Regions from separate parts of the Homo sapiens genome. Here regions 1, 2, 4, 5, 6 and 7 are each linked to region 3. Evidence: promoter capture Hi-C in 16 types of primary human blood cells and fetal thymus (Javierre and others, 2016). All regions are on one chromosome and are shown on one strand. Each heading gives the region's core, a stretch centred on a gene start or on the middle of the fragment in contact. The rest is flanking DNA. Distances are from core to core; before and after follow the strand shown.

Region 1 (2,955 bases), core at 332-2,831, 1.5 Mb before region 3:
TATGTAAAATGTAAAATGTCTTGTTTTCTCAGAGAACTCAACTCAGGTCATCCATGAAAACAAGTATATTTTATAAAATATTTGGCAGTTATTAAAGGGAAGACATCAAAATGAAACAAATCTGTGACTATTTTTCCTCATCAGTTACCATGGGAGGCATCCCTTCAAGAACACCATCTCTAACATGGATGCCTAAGTCTGTGACAATAAAGTCTGTGAAGTAAATTGACTGAGAGGGTAATAGTAAATACAGAATATCAGTGGATGCCTGAAACTAGCAGGAGAAAAATAGAAAATAATTATCTCATCGAGGAACAAATAGATCTATTGATAGTATAAATTTTTAAAAAATGTTTGTAACCTTTTCCATTAAGTATACTAGTTTATGATAAGTTGAAATATTTTGCCATCTGCCTTATGAAACTCCACTCAATCTGTGCAATTCAAAGTATTAAAATGGAAATAAAATAAATACTGTTTCACATATAAAACAAATTGGACCTTATAACTAATCATTTCTTCTCATTTCAATACCTCCCACTATTCTCTTCTTAACTGAAAATGACTGCAAGGAGGCTTTTATGGGGAGTTGGATTTTCACCTAGTTGAAAGATCAGTTTGTAATTCACAAAAAAAAAAGAAAGAAAAGAGAAGAAAAAAAGAAAGAAAGAAAAATCCAGTTCCTTTTATTTGCCTCTAGGACCTAATTCTTTGTCTTTTGGGAAATAAATTATCCTTAACAAAGTGCTTCTTAAAATTCTTATCCTCAGTAATGAAAGACTCTTCCAAGCAGATATGTTGTATTTGTAATTAAAAGGTTTCCTGTCCCTATATTATAACATTATGGCCAGCCTTCAACATATTTGAAGTAATTAGAGTATAAATTCAGTAACTGAGCGTTCTGAGAAAATTCTGAGGAAATTGCAGAGTTTTGAGGAAAATTTAGCATTTGATAGAGTGCGGGAACTAAACGATCCATTTGGAACTTATTGGTGTGGAAGCAAAACTATTTACCGCTGGAAGCTATGGTGGCAATGTTGGCAACGGTGAAGATTTTGCCTCTAGGTGCAGGTATGACAGTATTTCCTCAGACAGAAGTACATATAGTATTTTTTAAGGCTACATAATATTGGTGGCCTGCAGCTAAGAACCTATGTTCTAGTGATCTATGGAATTTGGATATTATTTCTAAGTAAGCCCTTCTCCTTGCTATGAGTGACATATACCTACTAGATTTGAAGATTCAGTCAATTTCCAAAAATGCATCTTCTAGAATAGCTTTGTGCCTTCCTGATTGCTCCTCCAAGTCTAATGCTGGCTCTGTCTTCAACTATTACCTTTTTTGGATGGTTTTCCTGATCTTGCCTATCTCTTCCCATTAGAATTCATGAACCCTTCTTCCTGTTTCCATGGTATCCAATATAGAGCTGTGTATGCTTGCCACACAGTATTTTGAAATAATTAATTTTATTTGATGTTTTTATATGTGTACCTCAGTCTCCCTTTCTACAGATAATCACTGTTAACAGTTTCTTGTGTTTCTTTCCATAAAACAGAAATTTTGCATTTTCCGATGCACATGTGACTAAATATACACATGAATTAAAAAAATGACCCACAAAAAATCATATTTTTGGAAATATTTTTCATCCTGCTTTTTATTTAATATATGTAGGATGTAATTCTATGAACACATGCAGGCTTGCGTCATTTTTTAAAACAGCTATCTAATAATTCCATTTTATGGATGTTTTATAATTTATAATTATTTGGGTTCCTAATTACAAACACTTTGCTGGTTTGCAGCTTTCCGATGTTATAAACACTGCAGTGAAGAATCCCTGGTGAACATCTGCAAGTATGTCTTCAGGATACATCCAAAACAGTGGGATTTCAGGGTCTGAGGGCGTGTGTTTATTTAATATTGGTAGATTAACTCTACAAAATGTTTCATCAATTAGCCTCCCACCAACAACATCACACTATGTATAAAAATTGGTTTACTTTCTCTCCTCACTTAGAAAGTGAGAAAAGTGAGTGTAGAGCAGTGCTTTTTATCTCAGGATCCCCACTGCACCTAACACAGTACTCAATAAATATTTTTAGAAAGGAGAAATAAAGAATGAAAAGTTCTGCTCATATTTTAGCCTGTTTTAACACCATCAGAGTTATGTTGGAGACAATATTAAAGTCACACATTAATATGATACTCAGACAAGTTTGACAATTCATGGAAAGGTGCATATGTGGTTGTGAATTCACTAGGCAATTACATAAATCTCCTCATTAATCTTATTTAGAGGCCGAGGAAGAGGAAGAAGAGATCTTACCAGAATCAATCTGTATCTCCTCTCTTTCGGAGTAGGCCTTCCCCTGAGACTAGCAATTGTTCTGCCTGTTGATTTGAGTGTGTGGGATAGGACCAGGAAGCGAATATCCTCTTTTTTTTTTATTTTTTTTATTTTTTTTTATTTTGCAAGCAGTGAGTGTGTATTCCTGCGAAATTAAGTGCTGAAACAATTTTATCCTGTTGTTTTTCATGTGCATTACATCATCTATGTGTAAACTAACTGTGGCTCCTAAGGACCTCTAGACTCTCTAGCCTGAACATCAAGGCCCTCTATCACAGGCCTCCAGTGTGTGTCCAGCTGCTGTCAGCTACACCCTGCTACTCATAGCTGGAGATCTACTGTGGGTTTTGCCCGCCTGCTTTATGGAATCATTCTGTCCTTCTCCACTGTGAAAAGCACTCTCATTTTCCTGCATCTTATGGCTGGGAAAGACTTTGCTGTAGCTTTTTTCTTTTTTTTTTTTTATCAGCATCTGATTTCTTATTGCCTGATTCATTGATGCCAATCGTTCTTGGTTCAGATTGGCTGCTATAGTGATTTTAAATCTGTATTTAATTTTTTATTGAATGAACTATAAATATGATCACCCATCTATATCCCAGGC
Region 2 (2,922 bases), core at 38-2,537, 1.6 Mb before region 3:
ATCTCTACTTTAAAAATTCACTTGCACAATGCCGTCTCGACATAGTGAACAGGATATCTTTGGTAACGCTCTGTCATTTTTAACAACATGGAAATTACCACTTTGCTAATCAACCCATGAACAAAAAAGTGTCTTGATGCTTCCCTTAGCAACCAAGTGCTCAGCAGTTTGCCCATCCAAAATCTTGTATTTTTGGTTCTTCAACATAGTAGCTTTTGATGTTTTAGATACTTTTAGGATTCATGAAAGTGGAAACAAGAAAATTCAGAAGAAGAATTTTATTTCATGTTTATTTTATTTTATTGTTTCTAATGATAATGACAGATTTCAGTTATTGAATACTTATTCTGTGGCAGTCACTCTTCTAAATAGTTTTGGGATATTTTCTTTTTTAAATTTTACGCAAAATTAAGTAAGTTTTATGTAAAAATTAGGTTTTATTACTATCCCCTTTTAAAAATGAGAAGATTGTGGTGAAGATAGTTTAAGTGACTTGCCCAAGAGCAAATAGCTAGAGGCAGTAGAGCTTCAAACCCAGCTTTTCTGACCCCAGAGCACATTCATAGGTGATCATTATAAAAAGTGAAGAGACAGGCAGGTTTAGCACTGCACAGTGGTCAAGTGTCTTCAAGCTTAATAGTATCACTTTATGAATTTCAAAGTACTCTGGGCAGGTGTCAGGGAGAAGAAAAAAATGAAAAGAAACAAAAGGAGAAAGAGAAATAAGTTTAAAACAAGAATATATGTTGTCACAGTAAGTGTGTAATAAATATTTTTGAATGAAGTGAAATATGAAAGACAAAAACAAAGGAGGATTTTATGGCAGGTGGTAGAAGATGGTGTTCAACCATGACTTTGGGTTCTATCTTTGGTACAGAAGAACTACAGACTTCAAGTATGATTGCTTTTCTAGGTTGCAGCTTCACTCATCCCTGGCTATATCTAGACTTGTTAACAAATTTATAAATCTTCACCCACTGATTTTTCTTTCTGGTTAGAATCAGCCCAAATGACTTTTAGCTTCCTGAATACTTATTATCGTACGTCAAATACAGTATCAAAGAAAGAATAACTTAACTGTAAAACACCCTGTTTTTCTGATTCTAGCTCTGACATTCAACATCCTTGGAAAAATCAGTTGCTCTAGTGTATAGAATGTTTTCAAATTGCATGAGAGATTATGCCACAGTTGTATGTGATGAAAACAGTTTTTAATAATTTGATATGGACAGAATGATTAAAAAGCCCACTTGGCCTCTTCTTTCCTCATTGTTCTGTCTCTTTAAACTTGGATCCCTTTGGGTTGGCTGTAAGCAGTGGAAAAGAAATGCAGCCTATAGAATGAGCAGCAGGATATTGTGGAATATGGAAATCATTTCTATATTGTACAGGGAAATCTAATTACCTCTATCGATCATTCATCCAGTCTTTCCTCTCTTCTGTTTTGTTGAGTGTTTGGTTGTATAATTGACATTATTAGAGCGTTAGTGCCTCCTTTCAAAAGGCCTGTGGTTTGCTGGCCATTAGCAATCTTGATAGACGTGTCAAGGACAGAAGACCTCCAAATGCAGTCAAATTTTCTTTACACAGTAGGGTGGCTGGCTGTCTCTAGTTAACTCATGTTTTCTGCAAGTGTTATTAGAATTATATCACTTCATATGCAAGCCCTCTATGTTTCAGCTGACTCTTAATTACCTAAGCTGGGGAAGTGATTCTTTTTCTAGACTTAGGAACAAAGATGAATAGCTTTATAGGCTTGTGAGATCTCTGTAAAATCTTTTATGATTTGTTAAAGATCAAGTACAGCACTTTTAAGATTCTTTAGGACCTTGAGGTTGGGCTGGGTTGTTCAGAGATGGAAATAGAACCCTTGGCTTTTGTGTGGCAAGAGCAATGGAAATGACCAAAGGTTCAGTCTCTTGTCAAAAGTTTCAAACATGATTAAGCTTTTTGTGCTCATTATCTCAGAGTGACCTGCACCTGTTTAGTTGTTATCAGAAATATCATTTAAAACATCTAAAACTCTTCATTATCAACTCTTTATTTTTCAGGCCACTATAAGGAAACAACAAATATGATAATGCAAGGACTAGGTGGGGGTGGGAAATGAGGAGATCCAGGTTGGGGCTCAGGCTCTCCAGTAAGTGGCTCTGTGAGGCTGGGGAGGTCATTTCTCCTCTCCTGCCTTCACCTTCTGTTTCATAAGTTGGTTGGATTTGGGAGTTCAAACTTAAATGCCATTAGAGGCCTGGAAAAGAGTTTAAGACAAAAGACAGGAATTAGTTCTGTGGTCATTGGAGAGTGCATATCAACCTGGCCTATAGATGTCACAGCCTTAAACACACTTAAAGATATCCTGGCACAGAATATACATCTATGACACTTTTTGGCCCATAATTGCCATTTTACCACTCCCGTTTATATAATCTAAACTCCTCCCCTTCTTTAGGTATACATTTTCTGGCTCTACAAAAATATTCAAATAAAAAGAGGAAATGAAAGACCTAAAAGAAATGTCTTATAGTAAAGAAAAAAGAAACAAGTAAATCATGTGAGGATAAAAATTCACTTATTTTAGATAGAATAAAAAAAGACCAGGGTGTCATAGTTAAATCCAAGTTGACTGCGATGAGCCAGTGTGGGTAATAGTGCTGTGGGGAAAGGAAAGGACAGTGTGATCCTGAAGTGCAGCATGAAGCACATGTGACATAGCAGCAATAAGTCATCTTTCTGCTGCACTTAGCTTTAGTCTGACTCTCATTCCAGGGGAGTCCAGATGTGGTCAGTGGCCCTTAAAAGGGATATGAAGAATCTGGGAAGCACCTAGAGGTTAAGGGAATGGGAAATTGTTTCTTCGGAGGAAAGCCTAAAAGAATTTGAATTGATCAGCCTGGAGAAGAGAAGGAAAGTATTTGGCTTAAT
Region 3 (3,004 bases), core at 342-2,841:
GGATCCCTTAACAACTTGGCACTCAATTTTTCTCTTCTGCAAAATGGGAATGACCATACTTTGGCCTTTCTCCCCAAGGTTATAGTAAAGACCCAATGCCATAGATATAGACAGAGATAGTACATGATGACACTTTGTACTGCATACGTCACCCCATTAAGATAAGAGGTCATTCATTTCAGCCCCTTTTAATATCAAAAACAAGCCTAGTGTTATCTTCGGTAATTGTGAACATGCCCATAATTATACTTTTACCAATGCCAGTAAAGCCAGTAATACATTTGTCTGCAATAGATGTGTTATCTATTCCCTTAGGAAACTAACAATAAAAATAATTCAAGAGTAATTATCTGGCTTTCACACTTTAAAGATGAGAACACATCCTGGTGTGCTATTCATTAATAACGTGGATACATTATATAATTGTATTTTATCTTTTTTAAGAAGTCATTCATGGTCCCACTGACAGCATATATACATCTCCTATGAATTTTTGGATACCAGTGTATGTTTTCCAGGTTCTACCTTAAAAGAAAATCATGTATGGACTTTTGATTATCCATGGTACTGGGAAGTAATTGAAATTCATAGATTAAACACATTCTTCAATCGAACCATTAGCTCAAACTTCTTCCTCACATAACATATCCTCTGGCTGATTTGCGTTTCACCATCCCTTCCCAGGACTCCAACTACCCAGAGCTTATGCTAAGGAGCAATGGAAAGGAAAAATAAATAGACAAAGCAGGCAGTATGAGGAAGGCAATAGGGGTAAAAAACAAGACATGGATAAACTGCAAGCTGAGTAATTGGCTGGAGTAAAATGAGCACTTTCAAATACTCAGCTCTTTCAGGAAACAAAATGACTGCATAATTGTCTAAAACCGCAGTCTGACAACCTGAAAACCACTGCACCTCTATTTAATTTACATTCCAGGAAAACTCAGTCAAAGATCCAATTACAATGTATTACCTTGGATGGAATTTGAATACTATATATGCTCATTGCACTTTCCAATTAGTAGTCAACAAGCATGTTATTTTTACCCCAGAAATATTCGTCTAATAACAACTTCCCATTTGGTGCACCAACAGTTCTGGTTGGTACCGGAGGGGGAGCAAGACACAAATCTGAACCATTTAGGAGTTTCTCTAAACACGTTTTAGGAAGCCCTACCCTTAAAGCCTATATGCCATGCACAATACCAACCTTATGGTCATTCGCCTTGTAATCGTTGAACCGAGGCTGGCCGCCTGCCAAGGTGTAGGCATTACCCTCTCTAAACACACTGATCCTCTGAGCAGTCAGCTTAGGGGAGCACATCTGGGGCCTGGGGACTTCCCCAGACCCATAAACACCATCCATTGTTTCAAGAGACTCTTGCAGAAAACTGTGAGGGTATTCCTCCTTTGGTGACTCTAATTCCTGCCCATCCTCAAAGACCTGCTTCAATACTCGACCGCTGTAGGAGGAGGAGATTTTAAATCGTACTTTCCGGGGTTTGCCATCACTCTTCTGATTCAGCTTTTTCTCAGGGTCCTCCATCAGCAGAAAGTTGACCCTGTGGTCTCCAGCCTTCCGTGCAGCCGGTGAAACTTGGGCCTCTGAGAAAAAGGCATTTTATTTTCTCTCCTCCTGCATATAATTAATTCAAGTTGTTGCTGGGGTATGGTCAGTTTACAGCAACTGACACCCATACATTAAATATTGATAGACCCTCATGAAAAGGCAGGTGATTCTGGTTTGATGGAGTGGATGGAATATAAGACAAGATTGATTCTTCTCATAATCCCAAGCTCACCATGACTTCACCCCAACCCTAACCTTTCTTAACCTGAGGATGAAGAAGTTTATTTAGACTGAACATGTGCCAATTCAATAAGGATCAGACACTCAATTAGTTAACAAGTGTCTTCTTATTGTTAGCAATGACAATTAAAATCTAGTGAGCATTTCATAAGTACCAGAGATTGTTACATGCATTATTTTATTTCATCCTCACGATAACCCTACAAAGAAAATCTTACCTTTGTTTTACACAGGGGAAAGTGAGGCTTAGAGCCACTTGTCATTTATCTTCATCATTTGTCTGCTCTATTACACCTAAGTAAGTGACAGAGCAGGGATTTGAACCCAGATCTATCTGACTCCAAAACCCAAGATCAGCCCACACAACCAGAAGTTTTCCAGTTCTGGTTCTAGAAGAGGGAATGACGTCCTAGATACAGTGGAGGTTCTTGGAGGCTGCTGCTAAGAACAGGAGAAGGCCGAGGGTCCTGGATTCTGGGCCTTCTCCCCCTACGCTAACCAGAGCACCTCCACTTGGTATGTATTTTACATTTAAGATTTCATTTGCAATCACAGCACAAGTCCCCATTGCCTGTTGGACTTCGTAAATGCCTGACACTGAACTAGTGGCTGGAGTGAATAGCACAGAAGCATGTGACCTGGGCCTGAGAACAGTCCTACAATCCCATACAGACCTCACACAGGTGAAATAATAACCTCATGCTTAGAGAGCAAACTGCCCACAGCTGAATCCCAGAATAGCCACTCTGGGAAGGAAGTGGTCTCTAAGGAGACAAGGATGGAAGAAGGTTTGTAAAGAAAAGGGCCCTTGGGCTGGGTAGAAAATGGTAGGTTGGATGTGAGGAGCTGAAAGTGGAGTAAAGCCTTTCTCCCTGTCTTTGCTACCAGCATCACCATTTACTGAGTTACCCAAATTGACCCCTCCTATTCCCCTACAGCCATTCGCTTGGATTCTTTTTTTTTATTATTTTATTTTATTTTTTTTTTTTTGAGACGGAGTCTCACTCTGTTGCCAGGCTGGAGTGCAGTGGTACGATCTCGGCTCACTGCAACCTCCACCTCCTGAGTTCGAGCAATTCTCATGCCTCAGCCTCCCGAGTAGCTGGGACTACAGGCACACGCCACCATGCCCAGCTAATTTTTGTATTTTTAGTAGAGATGGAGTTTCACCATGTTGGCCAGGATGGTCTCAAT
Region 4 (2,725 bases), core at 46-2,545, 1.6 Mb before region 3:
AAGCAGGTTGCATTTCATCTTTCCAGTCTGCATGAAATGAAAGGCATCTCTTAGGATAGTTAGCTCAAAAGCTAAGCAAACTTTGGCATAAAAAAGGGAAATAAGAGATAGAGCAATTGTTCTCACTCCATTCATGCAGTTCGTGTATGAGCAGACAAGAAAAAGTCCTGAGAAGTAAGACTGTTTGTGGAAAACCTCTCCTGTGGCTCCATATGCAGTATTCATGTAACTGGGATTGTGGATATGGTCTAGGATGCACTCAAGAATGAGCTGTCGTGTGCTCATTGACAGCATGCAGGACTTGACCTGGAAATAATTAAACTCTGCATGGCCTCTGAGCAGCTAGAAGGGGCCCAGCTGTCTGCTGAGGAAGAAGAGATTTCAAGGGTAAAGTAGTTAAAGAAAATTCTGAAAGATATGATGGAGAAAGAACACCAAGCTCTGCAGCCTTCTGAAGAAGCAGTTTCCTAGGACAAGTGTCTTGTCTAGATCCATTGAAAGGGACAAGGAGCTTCAGTCCTCTTCAAGGAAGAGCAAGGCACAGTAAGGCAAATAAATCCTTCCTATTATTTCTGAGAGCAAGTAATAAAGTTGTTTATTGCTTCCTCCCAAAGAAATAAGAATTATAAGGTCCAAAAAGACATAAATGAAACTATAATGTGAGATTTATGGTCATTTGGGCAGAATCGCAAGTGTATAATTGGTGTAGCATGTCGAAAAAGATGGTTGCCTGTTTTTTTTGTTGTTGTTGTTGTTTGTTTTTTTAAAGCTTGGCTTTTGCCTTGACAGTTTTAGCAATTAATGTCTTATATTTGAGTCTCTATTTATCTTGCCGAAAGAGACTATTATTCTAATTTTTTTCTGTTATATTGGTATTATTTCTTAAGTAGCTATTAATATCATTTTTTATGTAAATGGATATAATTAACTCTATAGGCTGGCAGCTTTCTTTGAAATTTTCTCACTTTTCTCCTTCCTGAGCTTACTTTAATATCTGACTGTAACTTGTAAATATCTGTCTAGAATTGATGAAACGACCCCAATTGGGTCCCAATTAGCTTAGCAACAGAGGCTGTCATGCTTAAGATTTGAGTATCACTGATACAGGCTAAAAATGAACAAATGAAAGAAGGAGCTGTATTTCAGCTCTTTGGGAACAACAACAAAAAAAAAAAAAAAAAGAAAAAAAAAAAAGGAACAGTTGTAGAGGGAACACCTCCCAGGAAAATACCCTAAAGATTTCCTTTACACAAAGCTGGAACTTTAGGAGAAAAATGTTAAAGGAAAATAATTACCAGATTAGTATCTTATAAATTTATTTAAAACACTAGATTTACTGAAAGTAGGGGGTTTTCTTAGAAGATTAATTTGAAAAATAATGTGGCAAAGGCACCCCTTAAGTCACCTCAAATGTGCCTGCACCCTCTCTGCTTCTATAAAAGGGGAGAATTTGACCGAGCATATTACCTCACCCTTTGTTCCTCTCTGCAGCAATTCTTTCATCCAGATATTTCAAAGTGTTTTTACAAATGTAAATTAACAAGCCTCATCACCTCTCTCCATAGAGATGGTTCAATTAAGTAACTCAGAAACGTACCTAAATGGCTTATTCAAGGTCACCTGAGAAGTCCTCTGTGAAATCTGGAAATGGATATTCAAAGTGTAAAAATTCCTTGCAGTTTCACTGCACATCCGGGCTTATTGCAACCCTTGGCAAGTGCCACTGGAGGGACAATTATTTTTCTTCTTTAATCTTTACAGTGAGTCTTTCACCAGTTGGCCTTCTCCCAACCTCATCAAGTACCCACAACCCATGTACCTGAAGCTTCAGTCCTTTCCTCTTCTCACTTATCTGTCCCAAAAGCTGAATGAGGACAATGACTTTTTTTTTAAAGAATCATTTTGATTAAATAAGTACTTCACATACTTATTTTCTCTCAAACTCTTCTATTTATCCATTTCATAAATATTTACTGAATACTTCATTTGTTGCCACTCACTGTGCTAGACACAGGGAGTGCTACAATCATGTTCCTCCCTTTCTGAGAAAGAAAGACAATAAAAAGAAATAGATACCTAGTGGTCAATGCTATGAAGATGGCAAATGTGGCAGGCTGGATGAGATGGGTAAGAATTAATGGATCGGGGAAGGCCTCTCTAAGCAGGGAACATATGAACCAAGACCTGTAACCTGAAAATACATCAGACTTTTAAAGTACTGAAAGAAGAATGCTCCAGGCAGAGGGAACAGCAAAAGTAAAGACAAGAGCTCGGCTGGGAAAGAACTTGGCCAAAGCCTCATGCACCAGGGCAAGGATAGCAGGAGATGAGGCTGCAGAGGAAGGACAAAACTTGTGGGCTATGGGACAAGGTATATAATTCATTGATAAAACAATAATCAACCTGTGAAGGGTTTCAAGCAAGGAAATAACATGACTGACCTGATTTATGTTTTAAAACTAGCAAATGGTGAAGAATATTCTTGCTCTGCAAACATTTTTTATCTTTATCTAATATCAGATGATTTATCAGGTTGAACAGGTTTTCCTATACCTTATAACCACTTGAAGAAACATAAGTAGGAAAACTATGTGCTCTTCTCATTTTAATCCTTTCCACACCAGTTCTTTGAACTCATGAACACAAAACATTGTCTTAAAAGAGAAAGACCTTCCTACTTCTTTGGAGCTGATTTGTTAGTTTTTATATTACTGATCAGTTAATA
Region 5 (2,779 bases), core at 88-2,587, 1.7 Mb before region 3:
GAAACCCCGTCTCTACTAAAAATATAAAAAATTAGCCGGGCGTGGTGGCGGGCACCTGTAGTCCCAGCTACCTGGGAGGCTGAGGCAGGAGAATGGCATGAACGCAGGAGACGGAGGTTGCAGTGAGCCGAGATCACGCCACTGCACTCCAGCCTGGGCGACAGAGCGAGACTACGTCTCAAAAAAAAAAAAGAAGAAGAAATGAGTGAAAGATAAAAAAGAAAAGGGCAACTTGAACCTTGAGAAAGAGGTTAAGAGATGTGGACAGGAGTGGGCAAAGTCACTTTGCTAAGTCAGATTCCTTAGGTACCTCCGTTGTATGACAGGAATGGTAGATCTATGTAACTGCATTGTAAGACACTGAGTAGCAAATAATACCACATATGTAAAGTGGCCATGTTGCTTATTAGATGTCTGCTATTAAGGCAGATTTTATATTAGCTTGAGTGAACATCTAGAGAATGTCTTAAGGATGCGTAATGAAGAAGAGAGACATTAAATCTGCTTTAGTATTATTATTATTATACTTTAAGTTCTGGGATACATGTGCAGAACGTGCAGGTTTGTTACATAGGTATACACATGCCATGGTGGTTTGCTGCACCCATCATCCCATCACCTACATTAGGTATTTCTCCTAATGTTATGACTCCCCTTGCCCCCCACCCCCTGACAGGCCCCAGTGTGTGATGATCCTTTCTCTGTGTCCATGTGTTCTCATTGTTCAACTCTCACTTATGAGTGAGAACATGCAGTGTTTGGTTTTCTGTTCTTGTGTTAGTTTGCTGAGAATGATGGTTTCCAGCTTCATCCGTGTCCCTGCAAAGGACATGAATTCATCCCTTTTTATGGCTGCATAGTATTCCATGGTGTATATGTGCCACATTTCTTTATCCAGTCTATTATTGATGGGCATTTGGGTTGGTTTGAAGTCTTTGCTATTGTGAACGGTACTGTAATAAACATACGTGTGCATGTGTCTTTAGAGTAGGATGATTTATAATCCTTTGGGTATATACCCAGTAATGGGATTGCTGCGTCAAATGGTATTTCTGGTTCTTGATCCTTGAGGAATCCCCACACTGTCTTCCACAATGGTTGAACTAATTTACACTCCCATCAACAGTGTAAAAGTGTTCCTATTTCTCCACATCCTCCCCAGCACCTGTTGTTTCCTGACTTTTTAATGATTGCCATTCTAACTGGCGTGAGATGGTATCTCATTGTGGTTTTGATTTGCATTTCTCTAATGACCAGTGATGATGAGCTTTTTTTCATATGTTTGTTGACCGCATAAATATCTTCTTTTGAGAAGTGTCTGTTCACCTTTGCCCATTTTTTGATGGGGTTGTTTGTTTTTTTCTTGTGAATTTTTTAAAGTTCTTTGTACATTCTGGGTATTAGCCTTTTGTCAATGGATAGATTGCAAAAATGTTCTCCCATTCTGTAGGTTGCCAGTTCTAACTGCTTTTTTTAGAGAGTTGCAAAAGCATTTATATATCAATGGTCAAAATAAAAAATAAGTATTTTAATGGGCAAATACATTTCTATTATTTAAATTATTATAAGACTAGCGATTAAAGAAAAAGTAATAATGTGGTGTGGGGTATTCAACATTAAAGTAAGATGCATAACAACTATAATCCAAGGGCCTGGAGCAGATAAATGAGGATATGCCATTGTAAGATTCCTATGTGCACAAAGCGGCATAATATCACTTAGAAGTAGACATACACTTCTCAAAAGAAGACATTTATGCCGCCAACAGACACATGAAAAAATGCTCATCATTGCTGGCCATCAGAGAAATGCAAATCAAAACCACAATGAGATACCATCTCACACCAGTTAGAATGGCGATCATTAAAAAGTCAGGAAACGACAGGTGCTGGAGAGGATGTGGAGAAATAGGAACACTTTTACACTGTTGGTGGGACTGTAAACTAGTTCAACCATTGTGGAAGACAGCGTAGCGATTCCTCAAATATCCAGAACTAGAAATACCATTTGACCCAGCCATCCCATTACTGGGTATATACCCAAAGGATTATAAATCATGCTGCTATAAAGACACATGCACACGTATGTTTACTGCGGCGCTGTTCACAATAGCAAAGACTTGGAACCAACCCAAATGTCCAACAATGATAGACTGGATTAAGAAAATGGGGCACATATACAGCATGGAACACTATGCAGCTGTAAAAAAGGATGAGTTCATGTCTTTTGTAGGGACATGGATGAAGCTGGAAACCATCATGCTCAGCAAACTATCGCAAGGACAAAAAAACCAAACACCGCATGTTCTCACTCATAGGTGGGAATTGAACAATGAGAACACTTGGACACAGGAAGGGGAACATCACACACCAGGGTCTGTTGTGGGGTCGGGGGAGCGGGGAGGGATAGCATTAGGAGATATACCTAATGTAAATGACGAGTTAATGGGTGCAGCACACCAACATGGCACATGTATACATATGTAACAAACCTGCACATTGTGCACACGTACCCTAGAACTTAAAGTATAATAAAAATAATATATGTATAAAAAAGTAGATAGTAGAAAGTTAAAAATATGTACTATAAATTCTAAAGACATCATTAAAGTAACAAAACACAGATATGTAGCTAATAAGCTAGTAAAGAAATAAAGAAGATAAAATGAAAAATAGGTTTTAATAGAATGGTAGCATCAGCCCTATATTTTTATACAGTTCAGTATCATACATCCAAGATATGGGTACATTTGGATCTTCCTGACTTGTGTAATAATTGT
Region 6 (2,878 bases), core at 34-2,533, 1.6 Mb before region 3:
CCCCATGACCTAAGACCTCCCATTGGGCCCATCTCTAATATTGGGGATCAAACGTGAGGTTTGGAAGGGATAAATATCTAAATCATAGCAATTATTATTAACTGAAGTCCATAATGTATTCAGGTTTAGTTTTTACCTACTGACCTTTTCCTGTTTCAAGATTCCATCTGGGATAACATATTACATTTAATATTTTATTTCCTTAGGCTCCTTTGGCTGATGTTTTCTCATAATTAGACTAGGGTTATGGGTATTTGGGAGGAAGACCATAGATGTAAAGTGTCATTTTCATCACATCATATCAAGGGTACACATTATTAATGTGACTTATTACTTTTGATGTGGATCTTGATTATTACTTTTGATGTGGATCTTGATTATTTGATTGAGATAGTGGCTGTCATGTTTCTCCAGTATAAAGTTACTCTTTCTTTCTCTTTTTCATACTGTACTCTTTCAGAAGAAGTCACTATGTGCAGTCCACACCTAAGGAGAGGGAAGTTGTGCTCCTCCTCAAGGGGAGAATATCAGCATAAATTATTTGGAATTCTATTATCTCTTTGTATGTGGTAAAATACTCTATGCCTGATGACCTTATTATTTGGATCCCATGTGTATTTGTTTATGTTGTGTATCTGTTCTATCTTTTTGTTATCCTTTTTTCTTTTCTCTTCTTCTGTGTGGCTTATTTCTACTAAATCCCAGACATTTATTTGAAAAAACTTCAGAGTAAAGTGAAGTCTAAGATGATTTTCCTCCACAGAGGATTTATTTTTACTTAAAGCAGAAGACTACGGTACTAGCTACCCTGGGTTACCTTAACCCAAATTCAAAGGTCCAGATGACTTGAAGAACTTCTGTCCCCATGAATACTCTTTTTTTTGTTTTGTTTTTTTTAGAGAGAGAGAGAGTCTCGTTCTGTCACCAGGATGGAGTGCAGTGGCACGATGTTGGCTCACTGCAACCTCCGCCTCCTGGGTTCAAGTGATTCTCCTGCCTCAGCCTCCTGAGTAGCTGGGACTACAGGTGCACGCCATCACGCCCGGCTAATTTTTTTGTATTTTAGTAGAGACGGGGTTTCACCATGTTGGCCAGGAGGGTCTCGATCTCCTGACTTCATGATCTACCTGCCTCGGCCTCCCAAAGTGCTAGGATTACAGGCATGAGCCACCGCGTCCAGCCCCCCATGAATACTTTTCTATTTATGGCATGTAACTCTTTGGGAGTATTCTAACCAAAGCATGGAGAGTTTCTAAGACTCCCCACTCTTTGGGGGATTCAGGACTGTAATTTATGTCTTTGTGTAGCTCAAGACCCTCAAAATCTCTTCTCAACATCTTGGCAATTTATTTTGGGATTGTCATGCTTCTATAAAAAGAGATGGTTTGGTCAAATGATCTATAAGATGCTTGATTATGACATACTGAGTTATGCTAAGACATGGTTCCTGCCTACTTCTATTTTAGTTGTGATTCTAAAGGTATACATAGGAAGCATTAAGAGCAAATTTGATAACAAAGTGCTAAATTGCATTGTATAGATAAATAGAGATAGGAAAGTCTATTTGCAGTTGGCTGTCATGCAGTAGAAAGAATAATCACAAAACAGATATATATAAAGGACAAATTGGTGAGGGTTGCTAAGTCAATTCCACAGAATTGGACTAACTGTTTTTCTTTTCATTTTTGCACTTCCATATCAGATATACTTTATGGTCAGGTCAATGTGTGATCCATTATATCTCCATATTAACAAAATAACCTCTTTAACACATTAAACCTGTGTTTTTGCTTGGGATTGGAGAGATCTCTATTTTTAGATATCTTTCCCAATGTACCTTCAAAGTAGACCCAATTCCTAGTTTCTCACTTTCCCTAGACTGATCTGCCAGGAGCCTTTTGTGGTCAGAATTCTAACCTTAACTTTGTATCATTTTGAGCTTCAGATTCTTAATTGGTAAAAATGAAGCCAGTAACAAATCCCCTCCTAGGATGGTTTTGAGAATCAAATGAAATGTAGTAGTGACTATGAAAGCTCCTTGAAAGCTGAAAATCATGGGTGAACTGTAACATCATTAGGCATTATTTTGGCTTGTCATCAGATGTGAACCTTGGAGATTATTATAAGATTAGAAAGCTCCAGATATGAGAAGACAATGATCAATATTCTATTACAAGCTGATCATGACCCTCAGAAATTTAAACTGTATGTTTTGTTTATTCCATTGTACATTTATTTATTTATTTGACAAATAATTACTAAATATCTTCAATGGACCTGCTATTGTGCTGGGTGATGAGGATTAGGGAGAAAATACACACACAATCTTTGTCTTAAAGAAGCATACAGTCTAGAAGGGAGATAAAAATTAATCAAAGAATCAAACTAATAAATGGAAAGATACAACTGTGGTAGATACTTTGAAAGAGAAGACTATTTTAATATAAGAGTGTATAATGAGGGAATAGAGGGTTTAACCTCATCAGAGAAGTCAAGGAAAACATCCGCAAGGAAGTTATGGTTGCGGTGCGACTTTAAGTATAGGAGTTAACAAGACACATGGAGGAAATAAGAGTATTCCAGGCAAAAGGACTAAAATCTGCAAAAGTCTTGAGGGAGGAAGAAGAATGACATGTCTGAAGAACTCAAAAGGGTCCAGAATGGGAGGAAAGCAGAGGACAAAGAGGAAGTGGGGCTGATGTGGTTTGGATCTGTGTCCCCATCCAAATCTCATGTTCAACTGTAATCCCCAATCTTGGAGGTCAGGTCTGGTGGGAGGTGATTGGATCATGGAGGCTGTTTCTCATGGTTTAACATCATCCCCCTTGGAGCGGTTGTTGCAATAGTGAGTTCTCATGACATCTGGTTGTTTAAAAGT
Region 7 (2,872 bases), core at 367-2,866, 1.7 Mb before region 3:
CAATAAAAATTTTGTGGAAATTTGTTCTTTCTTATATATAATATGCATTTTACATCTATAACACCTATTTTACATGTATAGATATTATACATAATATCCTTGATTTTGCCTCTTGGCCAGTAAAGCCTAAAATATTTATTATCTAGCCTGATACAGAAAAAGTTTGCTGACCCCTGGTTTAGGATATAGGGAGTCACACTGTCCTGAGATACTACTTCTTCTAAGTCATGTATCTTTTCCATTAATAAAGCAGATACCATTAAGGTAAAAGCAGAGAGACTGAGGCTAGAGGAGGAAGAAAAATACAGACAATTTTTTAAAGAGATAAAGGAGAGAAAAGCTTTCCTTAACGGAGAGAAAAGGTTTCATTTTTTCAGGACTAACCTAGAAAAATGCTTTATGGTTAGCTTAACAGTACCTATCCTGGAGAGACCATAAAATAAATGGTGCTGGAACAATTGGCTATGCATTATGGGGGAAAACACCAGAAATTGATTTCTTCTCCATATAACAAGGGGCTAAAAAGTTTTAAATGTGAAAAGCAAAACTTTAAAATCTTTAGAAGAACTATTGAGACTGCTTTTATGACTATGGGATAAGGCAAAAAGACACAAACCCATACAAATGTAACACTTCAACCCTATGTAGATACCCAAAGAAACCCTTGCACACACGGTAGATACACTGCTTACAGACCATTGTTTGTAAAAGCAAGACTGGAGACAAACATAATGTCTATTAGCAGAAAAATGGATCAATGCGTGATGATATACTCATGGTATAATACAGACCAGTAAACAGAGCGTCACCAAGTACTCACATAACTGAACTGCAGAAACTTAGGAGTAAAAAAAGCAAGTTACAGAAGAAAAGCACAGCATTGTATCATTTATATAAAAGTCAAAAACATGCCAAGTAATACTACAATTTTTAAGAATAGATACATACCTAGTAAAAATATAAAGAAATGCTCAAAATGATAAACTAGTAATCTCTGAGGGGAAGATATGGGATGTAATTAAAGAATATGCAGGGTGTTTTAGATAGATTTAATATTGTTTTCACATTTCACTCTAAATGCAAGGGACATGCTATTATACTTTTTATCTTATTGCATATATTACATCTTATGATAAATATAAAAATCAAATCTATTAATAAACAACATAAAGTCTCCCTCTCCTTTATAAGCATTGCCTTTGGAGAGTCATACTAGTTTTTCCTGGACTTTCCATGTTGCTGAAATGAACACAATTGCTTTCTTCAAGAGTAGTGCAGCTTTCAATTTCTCAAAGATGTATTAGTTATTGAACTAAGGAAATGGTTACTGGACTTTTTGTGAAGAGTCACGTTACACCCCAGGAGGCTAGTGCTAATAGAGATGAACGTCCTTGGTACTTTAGAGTGAATCAGGTACCTACAAGATTGAGAGAGGCACTGATGAACCAAAAAGAAAAAAAATTAATCTAATGGTAGAATATCAAACTCTGAACTATGGGTGATATGCCTGGGTAATAGCTATATTTTTCAATGCAATTAGACTGGAAGGACAACATTTTATTTGTTTATTGATTGAGCCAGGGTCTCCCTCTGTCGCCCAGGCTGGAGTACAGTGTGATTATGGCTCACTGCAGTCTCAACCTCTTATGCTCAAGTGATCCTCCCACCTCAGCTTCCCAAGTAGCTGGGTCTATAGGTGTACACCACCATGCCTGACTAATATTTTTATTTTTGTAGAGACAGGGTCTTACTATATTACAGGCTGGTCTCGAACTCCTGGGCTGAAGCACATGGCCTCTCAAATTGCTGGGATAACAGGTGTGAATCATTACACCCAGCCAAGGACAAAATATTTAAAAGTCAAAATTACATTAAGCGTCATTGTAGCAAAATTACATTTTCTTTCTAAGGTATAGTTAAAACTTCTTCCAATCAAGAAGTTTGAAAACAGCATCTATAAATTCATTAATTCTCTCATTTAGTAAAATATTTGTCCCAGGTGGCAAGTGTGTGTGTACACACATGCACACACACACACAAATATGTAAAGTTCTTTTTGTTTTACAAAGATGGTATACTATATATACTTCCTGATAAAATTAAAATATATTCAGGGAAAACTTTACCATGTCAGTATTTATTCTCTTTTTAATATGGCTAAAATCTTATCACCATCTCAGAAATTGTAGAATTTCAGAATTGAAATGCTTTAAAGAATCTAATACAATTTCTTCATTTTATATAGAGAAAATTAAGGCACAAAAATTACTTATTCAAAATCTTACCAAGTTTTTTACCCATAACAGGGTGAGCACTAAGATATGTATTTACCACTGTCAGTTCAAAAGTATGCAAGAAATGTGTCACTTAGTTACATGAAAAGAAATAGATGGTTGGGCACAGTGGCTCATTCCTGTAATTCCAGCATATTGGGAGGCTAAGGTGGGAGGACTGCTTGAGCCCAGGAGTTCAAGACTAGCCTCAGCAACATAGTGATACTCTGTCTCTACAAAAATATGTAAAAAAAATTCCAAGTGTGGTGGTAGCGTGTGCCTGTGGTCCTAGCTACTCGGCAGGCTGAGGAGGGAGGACTTCAGCCCGAAAGGTCAAGGCTGCAGTAAGCCATGAATGCACCACTGCACTCCAGCCGAGGCAACAGAGCAAGAGCCTGTCAAAAAAAAAAAAAAAAAAAAAGAAAAAGATGTGAGGTCACCTTTACACACTCATGATTAGATACATGAAACATGCATTTTCCTGATCTGGACTATACAATTAAAGAAAGACATGAAGAATTCGGAAGGGATTTAGAGATTAATCCAAAGGCAATTAGAAAAAGAAAATAAGTTATGGGGCGGAAAAAAAACAAAAAACA

Evidence for each region. Contacts are between HindIII fragments. The CHiCAGO score rates a contact against its expected background, and 5 or more counts as called.
Region 1: a contact is called between a fragment that was not itself captured here and the fragment with the promoter of GRXCR2 in region 3, in 1 of 17 cell types (total B cells). The highest score is 6.1, in total B cells.
Region 2: a fragment that was not itself captured here is called in contact with the fragment with the promoter of GRXCR2 in region 3 in 2 of 17 cell types (total B cells and naive B cells); the score reaches 5.6 in total B cells.
Region 4: a fragment that was not itself captured here is called in contact with the fragment with the promoter of GRXCR2 in region 3 in 2 of 17 cell types (naive B cells and total B cells); the score reaches 6.4 in naive B cells.
Region 5: a contact is called between a fragment that was not itself captured here and the fragment with the promoter of GRXCR2 in region 3, in 6 of 17 cell types (total B cells, naive B cells, M2 macrophages and 3 more). The highest score is 11.9, in total B cells.
Region 6: a contact is called between a fragment that was not itself captured here and the fragment with the promoter of GRXCR2 in region 3, in 2 of 17 cell types (naive B cells and total B cells). The highest score is 7.7, in naive B cells.
Region 7: a fragment that was not itself captured here is called in contact with the fragment with the promoter of GRXCR2 in region 3 in 1 of 17 cell types (M2 macrophages); the score reaches 5.7 in M2 macrophages.

The regions. Positions count from the first base shown.
Region 1 is chr5:144,326,062-144,329,016 of GRCh38, forward strand. All of the region lies in intron 3 of KCTD16 (potassium channel tetramerization domain containing 16), which reads left to right. Among named protein-coding and RNA genes, the nearest start is that of KCTD16, 160 kb to the left of the region's middle. The HindIII fragment of the contact is 4,124 bases long and covers 1-2,955 here.
Region 2 is chr5:144,301,604-144,304,525 of GRCh38, forward strand. The region is part of intron 3 of KCTD16 (potassium channel tetramerization domain containing 16); the gene reads left to right. Among named protein-coding and RNA genes, the nearest start is that of KCTD16, 130 kb to the left of the region's middle. The HindIII fragment of the contact is 1,314 bases long and covers 631-1,944 here.
Region 3 is chr5:145,871,423-145,874,426 of GRCh38, forward strand. GRXCR2 (glutaredoxin and cysteine rich domain containing 2) reads right to left here and starts at 1,592. Exons shown (of 3, transcript NM_001080516.2): 1 at 1,211-1,592. The coding sequence starts at 1,546. The HindIII fragment of the contact is 6,212 bases long and covers 1-3,004 here.
Region 4 is chr5:144,260,004-144,262,728 of GRCh38, forward strand. The region is part of intron 3 of KCTD16 (potassium channel tetramerization domain containing 16); the gene reads left to right. Among named protein-coding and RNA genes, the nearest start is that of KCTD16, 90 kb to the left of the region's middle. The HindIII fragment of the contact is 1,056 bases long and covers 768-1,823 here.
Region 5 is chr5:144,220,761-144,223,539 of GRCh38, forward strand. The region is part of intron 3 of KCTD16 (potassium channel tetramerization domain containing 16); the gene reads left to right. Among named protein-coding and RNA genes, the nearest start is that of KCTD16, 51 kb to the left of the region's middle. The HindIII fragment of the contact is 3,435 bases long and covers 1-2,779 here.
Region 6 is chr5:144,242,861-144,245,738 of GRCh38, forward strand. The region is part of intron 3 of KCTD16 (potassium channel tetramerization domain containing 16); the gene reads left to right. Among named protein-coding and RNA genes, the nearest start is that of KCTD16, 73 kb to the left of the region's middle. The HindIII fragment of the contact is 4,013 bases long and covers 1-2,878 here.
Region 7 is chr5:144,148,810-144,151,681 of GRCh38, forward strand. No RefSeq gene overlaps it. Among named protein-coding and RNA genes, the nearest start is that of YIPF5, 20 kb to the right of the region's middle. The HindIII fragment of the contact is 2,557 bases long and covers 339-2,872 here.